Linked DNA regions of Homo sapiens: region 2 is linked to region 1. Evidence: promoter capture Hi-C in 16 types of primary human blood cells and fetal thymus (Javierre and others, 2016). All regions are on one chromosome and are shown on one strand. Each heading gives the region's core, a stretch centred on a gene start or on the middle of the fragment in contact. The rest is flanking DNA. Distances are from core to core; before and after follow the strand shown.

What was found. The method cuts DNA at HindIII sites, captures the fragments that hold promoters and counts their contacts. A CHiCAGO score of 5 or more calls a contact.
Region 2: a fragment that was not itself captured here is called in contact with the fragment with the promoter of MARCHF3 in region 1 in 1 of 17 cell types (neutrophils); the score reaches 5.1 in neutrophils.

Annotation. Positions count from the first base shown.
Region 1 is chr5:127,027,557-127,032,501 of GRCh38, forward strand. It overlaps MARCHF3 (membrane associated ring-CH-type finger 3), which reads right to left and starts at 3,002. Exons shown (of 5, transcript NM_178450.5): 1 at 2,794-3,002. LOC105379163 (a long non-coding RNA gene) reads left to right here and starts at 3,787. Exons shown (of 2, transcript XR_007058920.1): 1 at 3,787-4,945. RefSeq lists a silencer at 2,964-3,343 and an enhancer at 3,340-3,884. The HindIII fragment of the contact is 7,560 bases long and covers 1-4,945 here.
Region 2 is chr5:124,646,201-124,651,244 of GRCh38, forward strand. ZNF608 (zinc finger protein 608) reads right to left here. Exons shown (of 10, transcript NM_020747.3): 4 at 3,410-3,497; 5 at 479-2,933. Among named protein-coding and RNA genes, the nearest start is that of ZNF608, 98 kb to the right of the region's middle. RefSeq lists an enhancer at 2,313-2,821. The HindIII fragment of the contact is 7,804 bases long and covers 1-5,044 here.

The DNA of each region.
Region 1 (4,945 bases), core at 1,752-4,251:
CTGGGGTTTGTGGGGTGGGTCTTAAATTCATCAGGTCTTGTTTCATCAGGCAGACTTCCTTAGAATCAGGGCCAACCTGGAATAGGGATAGCTGAGGATTCCAAAACACTTTCAGATGTAAGACAAAAGGGGTCCATTGTTGAAGACAGAGAGTTAATGCATTACCTATAAATTTCACAAGGCCAGTAAATGCCACCTGGACATTTCTCAACAATTATTTGTTAAATCAACTCACAGACTATAACTGTTCTTTTATGTCATTAACACAATTCCAGTGTTTCTCAAAGTACAGTGAAGGGATCCCTGGCATCAGAATCACTTGCGGGTGCCTGTGAAAATGCAGATTCCTAAGGTCCATCCCAGACTCCTAAATTGAAACCCTGGGACTGAAGTCCTGCCCAAGAACTGAATTTCTAAGAAACAGCCTAGTTAATTTGGATGATTCATATCAAGGTGGGAAAATTATTATGTCTACATTGTCCATTAGAAATTTAAAGACACTCACAGATTAGTGTTTTGCATGTTTTCCCCAAAATGTTTATATACCATAAAATTGAAAACAATACTTCTTGTGATAAGCCCTTAAAAACCATTCAGTTTATTCCGCCCATATATAATGAACACCATTATTGAAATGTAATTATGAGCATAAAATTATTGGGAAAAATATGAACTATGCTTCTCAAAAATACTGCCTTTATTTTGTCACTAAAGTAATTGTGCTATTAAAGGAATTTATTGTTTTTTAAAGTATCAGTCACTTGGCTGCAAGAACTTATTAAGCTATTATACTCCTCCCATACCCTTTTAGTCATCAGAATTTTTGTGATAAAGCCTTTTTATTATTTTAAAACTATAAATTGTGAATCATTGCAACTAGTGATTAGACTGACTATGAATATATGTCCAGGTTATAAATTCCTAAAAGTATGTTTCATTAGAAATACCAAGGCAGTCTTAATTATAGCCTCTGCAATAAAGCTCTGTTTACTTCTATTAAGGTAGGTTTTTTTTTTTTTTTGGTGCAAAATGATTCAGTTTTAATGCATTATTTTAACAAGCAAAAGCAAACAGTTTCTGATATACATGCCATACTGCAAAGCTGTAAACCCGTGTTGCATGGTGATGTGACAAGCACCACATTTCTGGAGGGATTTTTTTTTCTCTCCTACAAGCTCCCCCTCCCCAAGCCGTGGCTATAATTATTTCACAAAATGCAGTTTGCCATTTCTAGAGACAAACACTTCCTTCTCCCTCACCAAAACTTCAAGTTCAGGCCAAATATTGAATGAAAATAGAACTTGAGAGGCAGGCTTTGTTTGTAGCATGTTGTTTCTGCTAAGAGTTGCCCCCTACCCAGGCTCCACCCCAGTGGTCGGACTGAAGTGTACATGTTATGTTTTAACAGATGGGCCGGCTGGCGGCTGCTGGGCTGTAAAACAGGAACGCGGATTCTGCACTGAGTGGTATTGAACTGAACGCTCGTAAAGTTCATGGACATACTCTGACCCAGACAGACCAGGCAGATGCAGACATGCTTACGCATACACACTCACTAACACCCCACAGCTCAGAGGATCCATCTCTGTGACCCAAGGGAAGTTCAAGGCTGAATTTCCCCTTCATATATTTACCTCATTCACCTTTTAATTTTATATATACACACACTCACACATATACACGTATGTATGTGTGTATATGCGCATCTACATCTTCATATACACATACAGAACTATATATCTCAACATTTTCATGTATTTTCAAAGGTCTAAACATCCCCAAATTCTGGACCTGTTTCTGTCTAGTATTTTCAAAAGCTCTTATTCATGTCAAATAAGAATTGTAAGAAAATATCGTATTGAATTCTGTTTATTCCGCACATAATATAAACTACATGCATGTAGTTGGTCTCAGAAAAACAAGCTGCTTTTACCCCCTTACCATTAAGGGGGGAAAACAATCTAACCCAGACCGAGTCACAAACGGAGTGTCAGGTTTAACCTTGAGTTCTCTGCTGTCAATTCCTGACTCAACTTCATCACTTAAACACGCAGGTGCTCAAACAAACACCAACCGACCAGGCTGGCAATCCCTTTCGCAGCCTCTAGGATTCTCCAAGGCACTGGGCACCAGAACCGACAGCAGCTCCCGCCTGGTCCTAACGAAGTCCTTCGGACACCCCTTGCGGGTGGATGTGGAGGTCCGAGCACCTCAGGAGGGTCATGGATTCAAGTGCTAATAGAAAGCAATTACTTTAGAAAGTTCAAAGCCCAGCAGTGCTCTCAATTCCTCTCAGTAGCTGCAGAGCACTGAAGCCCCCGCTACAGAACCCGGCTGGTACTCCAGTTCTCTGGCGCTGAGACCCACCTTGAGCCCGATGAGCGCTCGCTCAGCCTTGAGATCCAGACGCGGACGCCGGGTCTTACCGTACCGCACAGCGCGGGTAATTTTTCAGGAACCGCGGTCCGCACGCCGCGGGCGCGGAGGCCGCCCCAGCGCTCCATGTCGTTGCCGCAGAGGGGCAGGGGACGCGTCCCGGCCCCACCTACCCATGTCAATTACGCCAAGTTGGTGCGGACTGGAACCGCGTCCCGGGCGGAGTTGGGATGCTTTGACAAGAAGAAGTTCGGGAGTGGGGATATTGGCACGGAGTAAATCCCGCCCAGCCCTGACCTCCCCACAGCGGTCACGCTCGGACGAACGGACCGCCGAGCGCCAGGACGCGTCCCGTCCCCTCTCGCCGCCGCCGAACCGCGCCGAGAGGAGCCGCTAGCCCGGCGCGCGGCCACTCACCGTCCTCGCCGAGTCCCGATAGCAAACCGACGTCCCTGCTGCGGTTCTAAGTGCCAAGTTGCCCCCAGTCGGTGGCTGCTCACGGCCCAGTGGACCAGGGCACATTGGTTCCGGCGGGCACCTCAGGGGGAGTGCGGCAAGCCTGGCGGCCGCCGCGGCCACACAGTCGCCCACAGCGCGCTGACAATTCACGGACCTGCTCAACGAGTGAGGCGGAAAGCAGGGCTAAGCCGACCAGGCTCTGGAGGGGAGGCGGGGCTGCCGCTAGGGGCGGAGCCAGCCCCGGGGCGTCATCAGCCCATGACTGGCGGAGCCGACAGCCAGTCGTGGTGGCGCTGGGACCGCCCCGTAACCGCCGTCCAGTCGCCTGCGGCCGAGGGCAGGCTGGCGGGACGCGCCGGCGGCGGGGAAGTTGGTTATTGCGAAGTGCCGTGGCTGCCGGCGGGCGCTGCGGGACTCTCTGCAATGGGACCCGAGCAGCTCTAGAGGGAGGCGGCGGCCCCAGAAGGCCGTTGGCTGAGAGAGACCAGGAGCCCTCGGAGCCGCCGCGCGCATAGCGCTGTGGAGCAAGAAGCCAACCGCAGCGCGGGTCGACACGCCAGTATCTGGCACCGGCAGGAGGCGCGGAACTTAGCTGCCCCATCGGAACCCCGCCCGGAGGAAGCTGAGGGCCGAGAAAGGATGAATTCCGGACCGGGTCGCCCAGCCACAAGTGGAAACCTGGGCTCTCTGGAAAACGTTCTGATCTCGATCTGGCTATCTCTGAAACAAAACTCCAGCCCCGCAAACCTCCCAAAGTTCAGTACACGTCCCCGTCCTCACCCCTGCCCTCCGGGCCACCTGCAGCGGGGGACTTACCGGCGCCTCGGGTCTCCTCCTCCCGACCCAGCGCGTCGCGGACACAGCTGGCGGCCAACAGGAGGCTTGGGCGCTCGACGGCGCCGGAACCTGTGAGACCGTCGCTCTGGGCGGGCTGCCGTGCGGGGTGGCATCCTCTGCGGTGACTTCTGCTGTCTTTTGGGTCCGCCAGGATTCCAAAATCCCAGGCGGGTCGCTAGAATTATCCATCTTCGTGGACAGGAAGCCCCAGAACGAACCACATCTGTCCCACTCTGCTTCCGCCCTCCTTCCCCTTCGCAAGCTCCTGGCTGGGATGGAGACATCGGACGAGCTCGGAGATCCCGACCTCTCAGGGGTCACTCGCAGCCGAACAGCCTGGAATATGGCCTTGTGGGCCCTTCCCGCCCAACCCCCTAGGACCCCACTGCTCATCTTGTCAACCAGTTTCTGAGCCCCTACCCTGGCTGCAGCACGTGCTCGCACAGGCGCGCTGAGCTACTAACATAGAATCAAAAGCAGGGAGTTGGGTGTTCTTGCTTTCCCGCTGAAACCTAGAATGTAAACAAGCCCTAGACCGTCAGCTGTGGGTGGGTAGGGGCCTCTCCCTGCCTAGAACTGCTCTTGCCATGGGTAGGCACCTAACCCGTATTAGTAAGAATGAAGGAATGCATGCTCATAACAAGAAAGGGGTCAACCTGCTGCCCTGATACTCACCTTCACCACTTACGTCTTGCTTCCAGCGCAAGCCCACTTCAGACCATTGCCTCATTCAGGTCCCAGAAGTCCTAAGGGTTTTAGTCTCTCAGTATGGGCAATTATTCACATGTAAGGGAGCTGCAAGGTGTTATTTCAATGCCATCTGGCCTCTATAAGGTCTTGCATCATAGCTGACCTCTCATGAGAAGGTTCTGATGAGGTCACCAGGGAGAAGGAATGTAAAGGGCTGGTGGCTGAAAAGGAGTGAAATGGCCCCTCTTAGGTGAGCTCTGGCCTGGTTTGAGTTTCAATTCTGTCTCCTCAGCTCCATTTCTCAATGGGAAAAGGTCCATAGGAAGGTTGTCAGAAGGGCAGGAGACTAGGGCAGGGATAGCCCTTTGCAGACCCTGAAAAATTGCTCAGTAATGCAAACATTGTCCATATTTAAGTTCTTTCTTTTCTTTTCTTTTTTTTTTGAGGCAGAGTCTCACTCTGTCGCCCAGGCTGGAGTGCTATGGCTTGGCTCACTGCAAGCTCCGCCTCCTGGGTTCACGCCATTCTCCTGCCTCAGCCTCCCAAGTAGCTGGGACTACAGGCGCCCGCCACTACGCCCGGC
Region 2 (5,044 bases), core at 610-3,109, 2.4 Mb before region 1:
AATACAAAAAATTAGCCGGGCATGGTGGCACGTGCCTGTAGTCCCAGCTACTCAGGAGGCTGACGCAGGAGAATCGCTTGAACGGAGGCGGAGGTTGCAGAGAGCCAAGATTGCACCACTGCACTCCAGCCTGGGTGACAGAGAGAGATTCCGTCTCAAAAAATTTAAAAAATTTAAAAAAAGAAATTAATGGACCTCATCAGAGTCACAGAGCAAGTTAGTGGCATGAAACACAAATCTGCAAAGCACCCATCCACAGTTCCTTTTACTATACACCATGACAAGAAAATACTGATAATGTACATTTTAGAGCTACATAGTAACTCCTGAGAATCTTAAGATATTTTTCAAGAGCAGAGGAAAAAACTAATATGGGTTTCTTTCCTGTGTCAGAAGTCTAACCAGATCAAGCCCAGACATGTATAATACAAGTCTCAGACTGCTCTCTCCCTGTTGGGGCCACGCTCCACAATCTTACTTGTTTAAATCTCGAGGTTGGGTCTACACCTGTCTGCTTCATAGAGTCCATGACAGACTTCATTTCTACAGCCTCCTTAATAAGCTGGTGGTTTTCCATCTGCTTAGCTTTGAAGCTGTCGGCCTGAAGCTGCTGCTGGTGATTGGAGAGAAGCTGCGATTTACCTGTCTCCTCAGTTTTATTAGGCACTGATGGCCCTAGTTTAGAATGGTTTTTGTTAGGCTCCGGAGTAGAGGGAGCTTTTGAGATTGTGGCCGATGGCATATTTTTCTGTTTAGTTTCCTCCTTGCCCAGCTCTTTCAAGGGGAGCTCACTTTTCCTTTCACAGTCTCCTCTCCCAGTCTGGGCCATTTTCTGCTCTGCCAGCCTCTGGTCCTCATAGTACTTCTCATACTGCTGTCTATAGGCAGGGCTGGTGGCCATCAGAGACTTCTGGTCCATATAGAGCCCATATGCATACTGGCCATAATAAAGTGACTGAGCCAGGGCAGGATGTCTTTGTGTGATCACCGACTGGTGCTGAGGCTGTAAGGATGCAGAATTGTGGTCCACTTTCTTAGAATCTAACTGCTCTGCCTTGTCTTTCTTTTCAGCATCTTCCTCAGACTCCTTCTTGATCTTCATTCCCTGCGTGCTCCCACTATTTCCAGCTGCAGGGGCACCGACCTGCCCAGGGTGCATGTAACTTGGAGAATAATAAGGATCATAGCTGTGGTAATAGGGAGAATGGGACTCTTTCAGTTGAGATGATTGTGCTGTAGTTGAAGAATGCCCTTTTACAACACTGTCCTTACTAGAAATAATATCTGATGGGGAACTGGCCTTTGATCTCATACCCTCCGACCTGCTGTCAGAACCACCATCGTCAGCAGCATCAGATATGTCTGAATAGGCCGGGCTGCTTGTCTTTGCAGCTGAACTCTCTGCCCCATTCTGGGTCAACACATGCAGAGGTGCCATTGGTGCCTGCCCGTTCACCAAAGTGCTGCATTCCAGCCTCGAGGCGCTCCCTATGGAAGGGCTGGGAGCGTTGTCTGTGAAAGTGTAAACCTTATCGGCCTCAGCTTTGATACTGGCCATGCGGCTCTCCTGAGACTCCGACAGTCCATTTGCCAGCCCTTCATTCTTGTTGAGATGATCCTTTAAAAAATGCCCAGGTAAATCTTTGCTGGCCCCCTTGGAGTCCTCTAGTTTCCCCAGCTTGGCATCCATTTTTGGGCTTCCCGTCTCTTTCCCTTCTTTGTCCTTTAGCTTTCGCTTCTCCTTTTTCTTTTTGTCTTTGAGTGACACCAGAGCTGGGTTCACGGTGATGGGCTCTCCCATAATTGTGGGCTTTGGTTGAATGGGTTTTAACGGAGGACTCTTTGGTGTAGCCTGAACAACAGTTGTTGTGAGGGAGGGCAGTCCGGGTATTGTCCCAGTGGTGGTCGTTGTAAAGGTTGCAGTGGGTATAGCGATTAGCTGCGGGGGAGTGGGGGCTGGGGCAGGGGCAATGGGCCGGGCACTTTTCAGTTTAGAGAGGTTTTTGTCCGTTTTGCAGTTGGTAGCTTTTTTGCCCTTTTCTTTATCTCCTAAATTTTTCTTGTCAATTAATCCTTCTGCTTCCAGTTTAGGCATCTCAGCAGCCAAACTGCCGTCTGCTGCCGAGCAACTGTCTAACGCAGCCGTCATGTTGGAGATTACTGGAAGGTTGTTCAGTTCATTGTTAAGGCCCTTCTTTTTGCCAGAATTCTTCCCAGCTTTAGCACCAATAATGGAACCTGGGCCATTGCTCATCAGCTCTCTCTTTCCCTTTGGGGTCCCAGGTGGGTTTCCAGCACCAGGGGATGCCGGTGCCTTCAACTGGTCATAAGCAGATACACTTGTGCTTGGCTCACTGCATTCAAGTGCCACATTACTCAATCCTTCCTCACAGTCCGAGATCTTGTCCTCACTGTCAGGCTCGAACTCCAGCTTGTTTTCTGGGTCTAAGTGTGCATGAGCCTGGTGGTACCTCAGGCCGTTAATGTGCTTGTACTTTTTGTTGCAGTTTGGGTGGGGACAGTCGATTAACACTGGAGAAGAGCAGCCTTGGTCCAAAAAAGTAGTCTCTGGTTTCCCTTGAGGGGTAGTGGGAGTGCTTCTGGAATTTGTGCGGACACGCTTTCCAGGCTTATTGTCCTCAGAGCTGGAGTTCAGGTCCAGCTCCATTGGAGGCTTGTTTTTCCTTTTGTTGGTGGAGGAAGGGCTGGCTTTGATATCCTCAGCAGCACAATTTGGGGGTGTCCTTCGTCCGCTGGCATTGAGGCTGCCCCGCCTCCCTTTCCCATTGGCCCCCCCTCTGTTCTTATTCTGCAGCCCTCTGGACTCTGTGAAGCTGGCCTCGGAGCCCGGGGCAGCAGCAGCAGACCTCGCTCTCTTCCCTCTGCCCCGGCCCCCTCTCATCTCCAGGTCACTTGTCGGTGACTCACAAAACCTATGGAAGCAAGTAACAGATGTGAAAATGAGCATCCCCAAAAGAGCCAGGTGAAATCACAAAGTACACAATGCAGTAAAGAGGAGTCAACACTCCAGTAGCTTCAGGGCTGGGCCCAGTCAAGGAAAAGACTGACAATTTCCAACACCTGCAAAAGAACAGGCGACCAAGGGCTTATATTCTTCCTCAGAAAAACCAAAGAAAAACAGCTCAAGTAGCTAGCTTCCAAACCAGTTCAAATTCCCACTTTGAGAAAAAATGAAAACAAAGACAGGAGAGAAGGGGTGGGGAGCAGAGATCTTCTGATAGAAAAGAAATTTAGCATCTGCATTTTACTGCGTTCAATCCTAAATTGCTCATTTCTCCTTTGCCTGGTTTCAATTACAGGCACACTTTTATGTATTATGAATCTCTCTCTACAGTTTCCCTGCAAAGAGAGGATGGGGAAGGAGAGAAATAAAAGGCCCTGTTCATACCTGGGAGGGGCCCAGTCGTGCTTGGTGCAGTCCAGTAGGGTTCCCACGTACGTTTTGTTCCTCCACGTGACATTGACCACTAGGACACCTGCAGGAGGCAGGGGATGAAAAAGGATCATAGTTACCACTGATTACTGTTATTTCCAGTTCACTTATTATTTTTTTCTCTTTTTTTTGCCAGCAAGTTCTATTCTCATTTGCTTTTAAAAGCTGTGGTTTGCATTCTTCCTCTTTCTGGTTTCAGTGACCTCAAGTTAAAACCCACAGGAAATAATGTGTGTTGTGCATTCGTGCGCGTGCGCATGTGGTACAAAGGAGTGAGACTGTGTGTGAGAGTGTAATCAAGATACTGCTGACAGAAGGAAATGGTTTTTGCCATGTCCTGCTGTAAAACAGCAACACTCACCTCTTAATTTTTCTATTATTACACATAATTGCTTTCGTTTGGCAAGCAGCCAATATAAACTAGCGCCAGTTACCAGTGCTTAAACCAGAGGGTGACTGAAAGGAATCGGTTTTGTTTCCAATTCAACAATATAAAATGATGGTGATTTTTATTAAGAAAAAATAATTATGCAGGTGCATAAAAATAGGCATAGACAGGAGAGTGGGGACTCAAGAGTCCAGATAGCAGACAATCAACTACGATTTCACTTCCCTAATCCTCCCCTCTTTGACTTTGTGAGACAGTAATCAGCCTGGGTACCGTATCTGTTTCAGTGTTTGGTTTTGTTTCATATTAAGGACTCCTAAAATAGCCCTCTTAAGAAAACAAATGTGCACAATAGATTTACTCTTGGGGTTATCTTTGGAGTCAACTTTGGTACGCATTTGCCTCAGAGGATTAGAAAAGAAATCTCAAAACTAACACACTCGTTTCCTGCAAGCCATTCTGCTTTTTCCAACTGCTTTTCAGACAGACAATTTAATTTAGCACTGCATCTGTGAATTACTAAACTTAAGTGTGCTTAGTATACCAAATGTCACAGAGAAAATATAATATCCTCTTTATTTCTGAGAGGACAAATGCCAAATTACAAAAATCACTTCTTTAAAGCATATTTTAATAGAACCTTGATTTTGAGACATACATAAATTATTAGGGTAAAGAAATAAAATATTTAACTGAGCCTTTGTTTTCTTTTCTGCATCTACCCCTACTCTTTCTTGGAAGCACCAGAAGACATTAGTCAAAATCTGTTTCTAGCTAGTTTGCTCACTTGCATTACCATTGCCATTGTGAATTTTACAGAAAACCTGTAGTGGGCTCCTTTACAGTAAGGGAAACCTGACAAGGTAAGACTCATTTCCTTGGGAACCTTTTAACAGCAGGTAAAATATTTCAATGGTTGGGACTCAAGTAATGGAGAACGATTTCTTTCCAAAGTCTCAAAAGGAGATTTTAAAATTGTTTCCCATATGGTCTATGTTGCTATTACTTAGGCAACAGCTGAATTATTTACTCTGTGTTAATTCAGTGTACTGTAGCAATAGGCTAGCAGGGGAAAGGCTAGGATGGAGCAAAGCAAGTATTTCCTCAAATCATAGCTGATTCCAATGAAATTCCCTCAGGAAATTTTTTTAAAACCATTGTGTATAAAATTTCCTATTGCGATGAGAATCCATGGTAATTAG